Regions from separate parts of the Homo sapiens genome. Here region 2 is linked to region 1. The links are contacts of gene promoters, found by promoter capture Hi-C in blood cells and fetal thymus (Javierre and others, 2016). All regions are on one chromosome and are shown on one strand. The core of a region is centred on a gene start or on the middle of the fragment in contact, and the rest is flanking DNA. Distances in the headings are between cores, read along the strand shown. Region 1 overlaps NIT2 (nitrilase family member 2). Region 2 holds the start of NXPE3 (neurexophilin and PC-esterase domain family member 3).

The links. Contacts are between HindIII fragments. The CHiCAGO score rates a contact against its expected background, and 5 or more counts as called.
Region 2: a contact is called between the fragment with the promoter of NXPE3 here and a fragment that was not itself captured in region 1, in 1 of 17 cell types (non-activated CD4 T cells). The highest score is 6.3, in non-activated CD4 T cells.

What each region holds. Positions count from the first base shown.
Region 1 is chr3:100,335,651-100,338,775 of GRCh38, reverse strand. The region is part of intron 1 of NIT2 (nitrilase family member 2); the gene reads right to left. Among named protein-coding and RNA genes, the nearest start is that of NIT2, 2.5 kb to the right of the region's middle. RefSeq lists a silencer at 2,997-3,125. The HindIII fragment of the contact is 2,566 bases long and covers 593-3,125 here.
Region 2 is chr3:101,777,512-101,780,636 of GRCh38, reverse strand. It overlaps NXPE3 (neurexophilin and PC-esterase domain family member 3), which reads right to left and starts at 1,426. Exons shown (of 8, transcript NM_145037.4): 1 at 1,313-1,426. RefSeq lists enhancers at 704-753, 1,318-1,612 and a silencer at 1,164-1,513. The HindIII fragment of the contact is 3,350 bases long and covers 1-3,125 here.

The sequences.
Region 1 (3,125 bases), core at 626-3,125:
CAGGCACAAGAATCTAGAGTGAACCAGCTTCTTACTACGCAGTGTAGGGAATGAAATGAGAATATGGCTTAAAGTAAAAAGACTGGGTTTGAATATGGTCCTGTCCCTTACTGTTTGTTCATGGGCCTCTCGTCTACCTCCAATCCATATACTGAGTATGTCCCAGCACAGAAAGTGTGATTCCTTGGAAGCTGCTCACATAATTCCCATGAGCAGCCCAGCTCATGGGAAGGGAAGATGTCTGTCTCAGTTTCCCCACTACTGGCTGGGTCACAGCACATCGATCCCGCTGCTGGCAGAGGGAAAACCTGGCAGCCAGTGAGCTGCACACATGCCTATTCACAGGACAGGGGTCCCAGGCACCTCTAAAAGTCTGCACTTACCCCATAAGTATTCATGTGTCCAAGAGAACATGATATTAAACAGCAAATAACACCATGAGAGGTTGAAAGAGATACTGCAGAAGGAAAAGCTAACAGCACTTTTCTCTTGCTATCTGAACAAGGGAACTGGGCCCCACAAATTATGTAGCCAGCCCTGACAAGGTCTGTGCTCAGCCCTGGAGCAAGGAGGTTGGGGGCTCTTCCAAGCTTATTTCTTCCTGGAGGTAGTAGCTATACATCATATTTGCTTTTCTTCTGTTCTTTAAAGTTCCCTTTTAGCTTTTATGATAATCACTTTCCATTAGCTAATATTTTTTATTTTGAGGCAGGGCCTTGTTCTGTCGCCTAGGCTGGAGTGCAGTGGCACAAACATGGTCCACTGCAGCCTTGACCTACTCAGTTCAGGCAATCCTCTTGTCTCAGCCTCTTATGTAGCTGGGACCACAGGTATGCACCACCATGCCGGGCTAATTTTTTAATTATGTAATTTTTTGTAGAGACAGGGTCTCACTTTGTTGCCCAGGCTGGTCTCGAACTCCTGGGCTCAAGCGATCCTCCTGCCTCAGCCTCTCAAACTGCTGCGATTATAAGCATGAGCCACCACGCCTGGCCAGATAATAATTTTTTATATAAAATTTTCCGCCGGGTGTGATGGCTCACGCCTGTAATCCCAGCACTTTGGGAGGCCAAGGCAGGTGATCACCTGAGGTCAGGAGTTTCAGACCAGCCTGGCCAACGTGGTGAAACCCCGTCTCTACTAAAAATACAAAAATTAGCCAGGTGTGGTGGTGGGCACCTGTAATCCCAGCTACTCAGGAGGCTGAGGCAGGAGAATCAGTTGAACCTGGGAGTTGGAGGTTACAGTGAGCCAAGATCGCGCCACTGCACTCCAGCCTGGACGACAGAGTGAGACTCAGTCTCCAAAAAAATAAATAAATAAATAAATAATTTTCCTTGTTCGAGTTACTAGTGTTGTTTCCATGTCCTGTCTGGACCCTGATGGATACATAGTTCCTGCTTATGGTCTGGTGGGACGCAGCAGTAAAGGATCCAAAGCACATTATAATCTATGAAGCTCTGCAAAACTTCAGGAATTATTAGTGTAGGGAAAAGAAAGAGCGATCAGATTATTACTGTGTCTGTGTAGAAAGAAGTAGACATAGGAGACTCCATTTTGTTCTGTACTACGAAAAATTCTTCTGCCTTGAGATGCTGTTAAACTATAACCTTACTCCCAACCCCGAGCTCTCTGAAACATGTGCTGTGTCCACTCAGGGTTAAATGGATTAAGGGCTGTGCAAGATGTGCTTTGTTACAGATGCATGAAGGCAGCATGCTCCTTAAGAGTCATCACCACTCCCTAATCTCAAGTACCCAGGGACACAAACACTGCGGAAGGCCGCAGGGACCTCTGCCTAGGAAAGCCAGGTATTCTCCAAGGTTTCTCCCCATGTGATAGTCTGAAATATGGCCTCGTGGGAAGGGAAAGACCTGACCGTCCCCCAGCCCGACACCCGTAAAGGGTCTGTGCTGAGGAGGATTAGTGCAAGAGGAAGGAACGCCTCTTTGCAGTTGAGACAAGAGGAAGGCAGGCATCTGTCTCCTGCCCGTCCCTGGGCAACGGAATGTCTCGGTATAAAACCCGATTCTATGTCCCATCTACTAAGATAGGGAAAACCGCCTTAGGGCTGGAAGGGGGACAGGCGGGCAGCAATACTGCTCTTTAAGACATTGAGATGTTTATGTGTATGCATATCTAAAGCACAGCACTTAATTCTTTACCTTGTTCATGATGCAGAGACCTTTGTTCACGTGTTTATCTGCTGACCTTCTCTCCACTATTATCCTATGACCCTGCCACATCCCCCTCTCCGAGAAACACCCAAGAATGATCATAAATACTAAGGGAACTCAGAGGCCGACGGGATCCTCCGTATGCCGAACGCTGGTCCCCTGGGCCCCCCTACTTCTTTCTCTATACTTTGTTTGTGTCTTTTTCTTTTCCAAGTCTCTCGTTCCACCTAACGAGAAACACCCACAGGTGTGGAGGGGCAACCCACCCCTTCAATTAGTAATGGCCTGCCCGAACTTCCCATCCCACCTCTGCTCCAGAGTCTGAAAATCCTACCATTAGAGAGCTATCTCTTTTGGGTGTTTCCTGTAACAACGCAAATGTCTCCAGAAAAGGCAACAATGACAAACCCTGGCCTCTGATGAAGGCCTGTTTGGCTCAGGGTTAACTAAAAGGAAAACTCAGATGTCCCATTCCTTGATCTATCCTAAATATAGTGAGAAGCACTAAATTTAACCCTGAAGGCAGCCTGCTAAATAGTTATAGAATCTGAAGGGAAACTAAAACAGGAAATAAAAGCTGGGATTATTCTGGGGCAAACAGATATTTTGAGCTGTTATCAGAACAGCAGATAAATCCACTAAACGTCTCCCCTCCATTTCCCAGCGTTAAGCCATTCTCCCTCCTCAGCTTCCCAAGTAGTTTGGGACTAAAGGGGCGTGCCACCACACCGGGCTAATTTTGTATTTTTTAGTACAGACAAGGTGTCGCCATGTTGCCCAGGCTGGTCTCCAACTCTTGACTCGTGAACTCAAGCGATCCTCGTGCCTCAGCTTCCCAAACTGTTGGGATTACAGGCGTGAGCCACGTGCCGGGCCATGTCTGTGCTTCCGAGGGTGGGAAAGATAAAGCTCACCATGGCTACGCTGATGGCTTCCTCTCCTACACAT
Region 2 (3,125 bases), core at 177-2,676, 1.4 Mb before region 1:
CAACTGGGCCCCACTCAAACAATTAAATCAGAATCTGTAGGAATAGGCCCAAGAAGTAGCTTTTTTTAAAAAGGTCCCTAGATGATTACAACATACAGCCAAGTGGGAGAACCACTAGTATAGAGTGGCCAGGGACTGTTATTCGTTTCAGTTGGTAAAAGGATGGCCTTTCCAAAATGATGTTTGAATTGTAACTTAAATTGTCAGGTCAGGACAACCCAATTCCCAGGCAATGGGGAAGGCTAACCCCACTTCAGTGATTTATCCCTTCGTTTCCTTTCTCAGTAACAAATAACAGCACTCTATTGGCCCCAAAGAGATTGTGAGGATAACAGACATGGAAAAAAAAATACTAAACAAATTCAAAGAAAAGCAGAACCCAAACACTACGGAGAAATAGTATACTGCTGCCTCCAAACAATTATCAGGGTCTGGGAGTCCTGCCAGTTTCAAATATATCCTGATGTTCCAAATGATAATTAACCACAGTGAGGAGCGGGGAGGCCCACCAAAGCAGTGTGATTCTTTATCTTTAGGAAATGTGGCAACAATCCCCCTTTAATGTAAATAATGAAAAGCAAAGAAAATTTACAATTTTGCACAAATGCTGCATAAATCCTGCCTCGGAACCCCTCTTATTACCACCCTAGTGGCCTTTGATCAGGCAGAAATGGGCAACAGGCCAGGGTCTCCATATCACACCTTGTAAAGTTACACTCGTTTCTCCCCATACGACCTGAATCTGATGTCCCCAAACGGCAGCTCAGTAAGGCCAGAACAGTCCACCGTGTGACAGCAGCGCCAGCCAAGAGGCAGCTGGTGCCCAGAGCAGCGATGAGCCGAGAGATATGAGATGGGCAGGGAGGCGTCGCCAAGTGCTCCGCACCGGGTTAGTGAAGGTGCCTGGAGGACAGAAGTCTTTCGCTGCGGCGTGGAGGTCCGAACTGTACCGAGCTGTGGCGTTGCCGCAAGTGGAGGAAACTGAGGATGGAGATGCTCGCTCCCGGCCCCGCCCCGCCCCGCCCCGCCGGTACTAGCCTGGGCTCCGGCTTCTTAGCTGCGACGCTTTGGCAACCCAGGGCTCCAATTCTGCCTATGCCTTCGACCCGGGCCTCCCCTCCCTGGCACCTATGCCCACAGCCACGACTCCAGGGGCTGCACCTATCAGCACGGGGCTGGGGACTCGGGAGCAGATGCGCGCGGAGGGAGGGGCTTCGCAGTCTAGGAGCGCGCTGGCAGAGCCGGGCAATGGGTCGCTCCGCCCGCAGCGGCCCCTCCCGACGTCCGCACACAGACCACATCCAGCACTCACCTCCGGGACCCGCCCGCCCTTCGCTCTCCGGGGGCCAGGGATCCTGACGCCCCGGTCGGTCGCCGCAGCGCCAGGCCGCTAGCCCCCCGCTTCCTCACCCGGCGACGTCTCCTCACCTCCGACCCCCGGCTACGATTGGTGGAGCTTCGGCGGGGGCGGGCCGAGGGCGTTGACTGACAGCAGCACGCGCCGGGCGGAACCCACAGGCCTGGAAGCGAAGTTGGCACCCTGGCGCTCTACGCCGCCAAGCTCCTGCTCGCGACGCGACACTGCAGCTGTCGCCCCGCGGATCGAGGTCTGGCCCCTCTCACGACCCAACTCCTCGTGAACTTCGGACGTCTGAGTTTCCTGGGAGCATCCACCTACCTCAAGGCTTTTCGCTTGTCAGCGAAAGTGCCCACAACCGCAGTTGACTCTAGTAGGGCAGTCTTTCCTGTGGAGTGATGGAATTTATTGTGCCCTGAACCAGAGAAATGCGATTTGCCAAGTATAAGCACGGATATAGCGGATCCTTGAATCTTTTCCTTGCTTTGACATTAGTCAACAACTTCTACTCGCCAGTAAAACAGCCCGTTCCTTTTACTCTCACTGTACATGATGTCGGTCTCTTGGCAAAGCATACTTTCCTCACCCTCCACCATCCCCAATTCTGGGTTATCCTATTTTGGACATTTTTCTAACTGGTAAAACGTCGGTAGCAGTTTTGTGAAATTCAGGAACTGAGAGGAGTCCTGAGAAGACACTTGTTCAAGAAACCAGAAGGAATTGTGGGCTGCACCGTGTTTCTCTGTGCTTGGAGCACAGTGGGGTTAACACAGGCCCCAAAAGCAGGCCTGCCCCCGGACTATTACCCCAAGGTTTAAGAAAAATAATTAATGTACATGACAACTAAGTATTTTTCCATTTCTTGACCATAATGGACTCTGCATGCTCATTCAGATGTTTTCATGGCAGGCCTGCTTCGTGGGCAACCAGATCCGTGAATGGGATAAAAGGAAGTTCTGCCACAGGGTGGAAGATCTCTTCTGTAGTAATGATCTTCTTTTTTTTTTTTTTAATATACTTTAAGTTCTAGGGTACATGTGCACAACGTGCAGGTTTGTTACATATGTATACATGTGCCATGTTGGTATGCTGCACCCATTAACTCGTCATTTACATTAAGTATATCTCCTAATGCTATCCCTCCCCCCTCCCCCTACCCCACAACATGCCCAGGTGTGTGATGTTCCCCTTCCTGTGTCCAAGTGTTCATTTATGCAGCCAACAAACACATGAAAAAATGCTCATCAGCACTGGCCATCAGAGAAATGCAAATCAAAACCACAATGAGATACCATCTCACACCAGTTAGAATGGCGATCATTAAAAAGTCAGGAAACAACAGGTGGTGGAGAGGATGTGGAGAAGTAGGAACACGTTTACACTGTTGGTGGGACTGTAAACTAGTTCAACCATTGTAGTAATGATCTGATACTCCTTCTTCCTCGAGGAAATACAGCACTCTGGGACCTTTTGAGGACATAAAAGGGTAGCTTCCTTCTGCTATCGAAGAAGAGCCTCATATACTAGACTTCTGCTCTGATTATGCTTTATCTCCCAGTAGGATCCCCCGCCTCATGTACAGCTTGGCTGTCTTACAAGTGGTAAAATACTTAGGACAAGATGACTTCTAGGTCATGGTTTTGGACCTCATTGACCCCATTCTCCCCCAAGCACTCATAACCCTGAGGCATTTGAGTGATCTTACCTATATTTACCTATATTTTACAGTCATAACCACAAATAAGAGCAGCCACTGCACTCCAGCCTG